2 separate regions of the Homo sapiens genome follow, and region 1 is linked to region 2. Evidence: promoter capture Hi-C in 16 types of primary human blood cells and fetal thymus (Javierre and others, 2016). All regions are on one chromosome and are shown on one strand. The core of a region is centred on a gene start or on the middle of the fragment in contact, and the rest is flanking DNA. Distances in the headings are between cores, read along the strand shown. Region 1 overlaps UBR2 (ubiquitin protein ligase E3 component n-recognin 2). Region 2 holds the start of CUL9 (cullin 9).

Region 1 (3,046 bases), core at 374-2,873, 520 kb before region 2:
TGTGGAACCACTCCAGAAAGTTGCACCTGAATCACATAGCTGATAAATAGCAGGGATTCAAAGAAAAGCTTTTCTTTGTGATGTAACATTACATACTTTGGCATTTCACAGTCTTTTCCATCCTTCAGTACACTTGCAAAGTCCTGGTCATTTGTTGACACACTGAAATAATAATTGTTTTGTCTTATTGATAGAGCCTGAGTGGAATCTCCTGAGAACAGTGATGGAGAGTTACCTATGTAAGAGGCAATCCTTGAGCCAAATTGTTTTAGAATAGTAATACCACCACAGATCGGGTTCCCCAGAAAGCAGATTCTTGGGATACAGATTACCGTGCAGGACAGTTGAGGGCCCTCTTTCAGCAACTGAGGGAGTAAAGCAGGGAGATCCAGTCCGCACATGATTTTGTCCACCACAGACACATTTATTTCTCTGCTTGTAGGTTGTGCTCTGTGTGCGTGTGCTTCAGCGATACCCAGTAAACTTCTTGAGAGTAGGAACTGTGTCTTGGGAATTCCCAGAGCACTGCTTTAACCAGTGCCTTTCACACTGCAGCGTGAAAGGAGGTTTGAGAGCCCACTTTTAGAGTTGCCTTCTCTCTGTAAAGAAAGTCTTTGCATCCTACTTATGAAAGGTTGGTCTGCTTCATCTTTAAAAATGGTCATTTAGGCTGGGTATGGTGGCTCATGCCTGTAATCCCAGCACTTTGGGAGGCCGAGGCAGGTGGATCACCTGAGGTCAGGAGTTCAAGACCAGCCTGGCCAACATGGCGAAACCCCATCTCTACTAATAGTACAAAAAAAAAACTAGCCAAATTTGGTGGCACGCGCCTGTAGTCCCAGCTACTCAAGAGGCTGAGGCATGAGAATTGCTTGAACCTGGGAGGCAGAGGTTGCAGTGAGCCGAGATTGCACCACTGCCCTCCAGCCTGGGCAACGGAGCGAGACCCTGTGTGGTTTTTTTGTTTGTTTGTTTGTTTGTTTTTAAAAAAAAAAAAAAAGGCCAGGCGCAGTGGCTCATGTCTGTAATCCCAGCACTCTGGGAGGCCAAGGCAGGCAGATCACAAGGTCAGGAGATCAAGACCATCCTGGCTAACACAGTGAAACCCCATCTCTACTAAAAAATACAAAAAAAAATTAGCCAGGCGTGGTGGCAGTTACCTGCTACTCGGGAGGCTGAGGCAGGAGAATGGCGTGAACCCAGGAAGCAGAGCTTGCAGTGAGTCGAGATCGCGCCACTGCACTCCAATCTGGGCGACAAAGCGAGACTGTCTTAAAAAAAAAAAAGATATTTAAACTAGGTGCTTTATAAATTTCATTCCAGGCCAAAGACAAAGTTGCTAATTTTATTTAACTTATTACTTCTGAAGAAAAAGCATTAGCTGGCTATAAGTGGATTTTCTTAATGCTTTGACATTTGCACTGTTCTAGTGTTAAAGCAAATTAAAACTATTAAAGCAAATTAAAAGTAGTTCTTTCTAGAGTGTTAGGAAATTTCGAAGATTATACTAATTTATATAAAGAATTCAAAAATTCCAAAAGAAGCCAGACATCCATCTTGTTTTTCATGATTTTTCATCCCCTTTGAATATAAAAATTAGCACCAGGACAGAAGACTCTGAATTACCTTTTTTCCCCCCATCTGATCTGGTCTGTGCTTAGATTTTTTGTTGTCACTTTGGCTCTGATGTGATTATTCGCTGTATGAGTGTTGTTAGGCAGTCTGTCCTCTAGGGGGCGCCCCGTTACTGCCAAAACATTTTTTATTAGCGATCATTTTAACCCAGCTGCCCTGAACGCACATAAGGCAGCCCCATGAAGAGAGTAGCTCTTTTACCTGGAGCTCAGGGTACAATGGGAGGAATTGGAATATCTCAGCACCCTGAAAGTGTGAAATGTTCAAAAGATTGGATATATTTAAATTCATAGTTCTAATTTCAGTTTAACAATTTGAGAATGTTTAATTAATTTGCTGTGGGTGGTGAAAATTAGAGAGTCCTACTTTCTAAATAATCCAAGGTGTTGCATAAATTGGTATCTCAGAGGAATAAACTAGCATTTCATTTCAAATTTCAAGTCTTTATCAAGGATTTTACAATTTAAAGTTACACATTTGTTATAGGAAAATTAAATGCTTCACTTTTGTTTTGTTTTGTTTTGTTTTGTAATGCAGAAAAATATGATCCATTATTCATGCACCCTGATCTGTCTTGTGGAACACACACTAGTAGCTGTGGGCACATTATGCATGCCCATTGTTGGCAAAGGTAATGTATATTCTTAATATTTGTCAAGAGAAGTTTATCTAAGGGCTCAATATTTTTTAAATAGAGGAAATTTCATTCTAGAAAAAAGGAAAAGAACTAAAAATGTTGAAAAAATCCGTATCATTGCCTAATAAATAACAAAAGTTATTTGCCTTGTCATAGATGTAAAGTGTATGTCAGATATGTTTTTTAATTTAGCTTTATATCCAAGTCTCTTCTATATCTTCCAAAGAAGGAAGTGGATCTGTATCAGTCTGTGGATGAAGAAAAGGGTTTTTACAGTAGGATAAACTCTAGAAGGGTAATGTTGTCTTTCTTTGGGTCCAGGGTGGACAACTTTTGATTCCATAGATGTTAGTACTTGCTTTGTTACTTCCCAAAATTGTAATGGCTCCCTGTGATGAGATGTCCTGAATTTGTTCTACCTTGGTGTTTCCTATGCTTCTACAAAACCAACAAATCAATAATACTATTATTCTAGAACTATGCTCACCCAGTTATCATGAACTACCCCTAACAACTAGCCACCACATTGTAGTCCCAGCTACTTGGGAGGCTGAGACAGGAGAATTGCTTGAATGTGGGAGGTGGAGGTTGCAGTGAACCAAGATTGTGCAACTGCACTCCAGCCTGGGCGACAGAGCAAGACTCCATCTCAAAAACAACAACAACAACAAAAAAAAAACAAATAGCCACCAGCCTTGGGGAAGTGGCAAGAGAACAATGACACCAAGAAATTTTTGTTGCTGCTTTGTGAATGCTTTTTTACATGGCAGTCTT
Region 2 (3,004 bases), core at 238-2,737:
AGAAGGGGAGCTTTTTCAGAAACAGGGCAGCAGTGGGGTGAAATTTTCTTAACCCCTAAGACTGCCTTCAGTAGGAACAAGCTGGCTTCTGTGATTAGGTGAAGGGATGGGGGAAGATTTTATGCACAGCCTAGTTATCAAGGGGATGATTTGCCGACATGTTTGAGAACCCCCTAACCTCTAACCCTCATTGCTGTCTTGCCCCAGTTTGGGGTGCCAAGATGGAAGTCACCTTTCTGGGCTTTCTCCTGGAGATAGCTGGGGCTTATGGGTGGCTTTCAAGGCTGGGGCATGGCAAATCAGGGGCCAGAGAGCAGGGGAGCTTGGGACTCAGGTCTGTAACTGCCCAGCCCCTTTTCTCTGCTCTTGTTTCACTCCACCATCACTCACTCACTCCCCACTCCCCCACCCATGGGGAGGAGACCTTTGATGAATTCTTCCTCTCCTTCCCACAAAAGACAGACCCAGTGAGTGAATCAGGCAAAGTGCTTATAATGTGTGTTGTGTGAGCGTGGCCTTGGGAGGACATGCGTGTGTCAGGGATGAGTTGAGGTGATATTTTTATGTGCAGCGACCCTTGGTGTTTCCCTTCCTCGGTGGCTCTGGGGTATGTGTGTGTGGGTGTGTGCGCCTGAGTGAGTGTGTGTGCTTGAATGTGAGTGTGTATGTCAGTGGTTTCTACTTCCCCTGGGATGCTGACCCAGGAATAGTGGACATGGTCACAGTCCTATGTACAGAGCTTTCTTTTGTATTAAAAAAAAATACTCTTTCAATAAATGTATCATTTTTGTGCACAGACTGTGGGGTCTTTGGTTCTGTTTTTCTACTTAGGGAGGGATGGGGGTATGAACGCGAGGCAAACTCCTAAAATTGCTGCTCTGAGTAGCGATCCGGGCTGCTTGATGAGAACGGTAATGCTAAGGTGTGCTTTGGGCTGTTTAATTCTATACGATTTAATTTAAGGAAAGTTTTGCGGGGCCGAGGACCTTCTCCCTGTGCGTGGCTTCGCTAGGTGTTAAGGCCAACGCAGAGGAGCAAATTTTAATTAACAGGAAAAGTGACACAACTAATCCAAAGCATTGCTGAAGGGTTTGGGAAACTCATGGGCACCTGACCTACTGAAAAGTCAAAAAGGGCAGCCTTAAGGTGGGAATGTGGGTTACCATGTTTCGTCAGCATGATCGCTGTGATGGGAGAGGGAGGATTAGGAGGGCCGACCCAGTGAAGAGGAGGGGGCTTCACAGTTGACTGGATGGAAACGGCTTCTTCCTGCTGCTGAGAGAGGAGCAACGTGACCTCGATCCCAGGCTCCTCCGGTAGCGCGCCCCCACGCCCCTCTTCCAGTGCAGCCGCCCGCGGTAGCACGCATGCTCCACTCGCGCGCTGTTCCGCCACGCTCGGCGTGGGCCGCGGTGGGACCCGTAGGTGCCCGGCCGTGCGTGCACTCGCCGTGTGACCCGGAAGGGAGCTCTGAGGAGGCGGGGCCAGGACGGCGGGACCGGCCGCTGGGTCCCAGCGAGGGCTGAGCCGGGCGGTGGGAGGTGAGAGGAGAGTTCTGCGCCGACCCAATCCCTCCCCTTCTCCTGTCCCCTCCCCGGTCCTTTAGCCACTGTCCATGGGGCTGACGAAGGGAACCAGGTCTTGCTCTCTGAGATTCACTGGATCTTTTCAGCTTTTTTGGACCGCGCCCCCAACCATCCTTCCCCCTCCCCCCAAACCCGTTCCCTCTGCGGTGCTGGCCTCCTCCACCTCCCCACGGCTCTGCAAGCTTGGGCTTGACCTTGCTATCTGCTGGTCTCATCCATGCGTCCAGAGCTCACCCCCACACCTCAGTTTATTGTTGCTCTTCTAGGCCGACGTTACACCTCCTACCTCCTCCTATCCGATTCTTTTACTTCCCCCTGCTGCTAATCAGTTGCCCGCTGGCACATCGCTGGCTACCATCCAGGCTTGCCCCCCATCCTAAGTGGACCCCTACCTCCATTGAGGTCCACATCCATCTTTCTCCCTCCTCTTCACCTCTACTCTCATCTTCTGTCCCTGTACCCCAACATGACCCCTGCCCTGACCACTATATCTTCATCTGGGTTTACCTTCTTCCATTCTTATTCTCACTATTCCCTGTTGCCCCTGCACTGCTTCATATCACGCATATCTTTCCTGATTATTCCACTCCCATTTATAATCGGTCTTAATAACTTTGCATTTATTTGATGACTCCCCTACCTTCTCCATCTAAGAATAATAACAGATTATGTTTACTGAACACTCTTTATGTGCTAGATGCTGTTCCAAGTGCTTTACATACATGATCCTACTAAATTCATGAAGTAACTATGAATATTACTACCATCTTGCAGAAGAGGAAACAAGCTCAGAGGTTAAGTAACTTGTTCCAAACTATGCAGACAGTGAGACAGAAAGCCAGAATTCAGAGTCACATTTATCTGATACTGAAGTCTCTGAATATTGCTTCTCTCCTGACCTCATTTCCTACCTTTAACCCCATGATTACCACCTCTATCTTATCTACTTAACTTACTTAAATCCTTACCATACATGCAGTATAAGGGCAGGGTGGGACCTGGTCATCTTTCCCATAATTTTATCTGGTCCCTAGGGCCCTCCCCCTTTCACAAGACTCGAATATACTTTTCCTATCCAGTCATTTGCCCCAACATCCCAGCCTTTTGTCATCTCCATTCTCTATATCTGCCATGGCCCACCCTTTACATCCACCTTGCAGCTTTACTCTGTCATTTATGCTCCCTGTCCTGCCCCTCCGCTATCCTACTTTTCCTCACATGTTCTGATCCCACTGCCTCACATGCTGCTGTCCTTCCTGTCCACCCATGTCATTCTTCTAAGTCCTAATCTGTAACCCTCAGCCACCCTGCTATCCTGCCTAAACTGTCTTGCTTAACTGTCACTCTGTTTATTGTTACTTTGCCTATTACTGTTTTAATTCTCTTTTTGTAAACTCCCCTTCCTTCCTTTCTTCCTT

The links. Contacts are between HindIII fragments. The CHiCAGO score rates a contact against its expected background, and 5 or more counts as called.
Region 1: a contact is called between a fragment that was not itself captured here and the fragment with the promoter of CUL9 in region 2, in 1 of 17 cell types (fetal thymus). The highest score is 5.5, in fetal thymus.

Annotation. Positions count from the first base shown.
Region 1 is chr6:42,660,012-42,663,057 of GRCh38, forward strand. UBR2 (ubiquitin protein ligase E3 component n-recognin 2) reads left to right here. Exons shown (of 47, transcript NM_001363705.2): 31 at 2,173-2,266. Among named protein-coding and RNA genes, the nearest start is that of PRPH2, 61 kb to the right of the region's middle. The HindIII fragment of the contact is 3,115 bases long and covers 67-3,046 here.
Region 2 is chr6:43,180,709-43,183,712 of GRCh38, forward strand. It overlaps CUL9 (cullin 9), which reads left to right and starts at 1,488. Exons shown (of 41, transcript NM_015089.4): 1 at 1,488-1,541. It overlaps SRF (serum response factor), which reads left to right. Exons shown (of 7, transcript NM_003131.4): 7 at 1-798. RefSeq lists an enhancer at 1,159-1,228 and silencers at 1,479-1,618, 1,639-1,688. The HindIII fragment of the contact is 6,829 bases long and covers 1-1,766 here.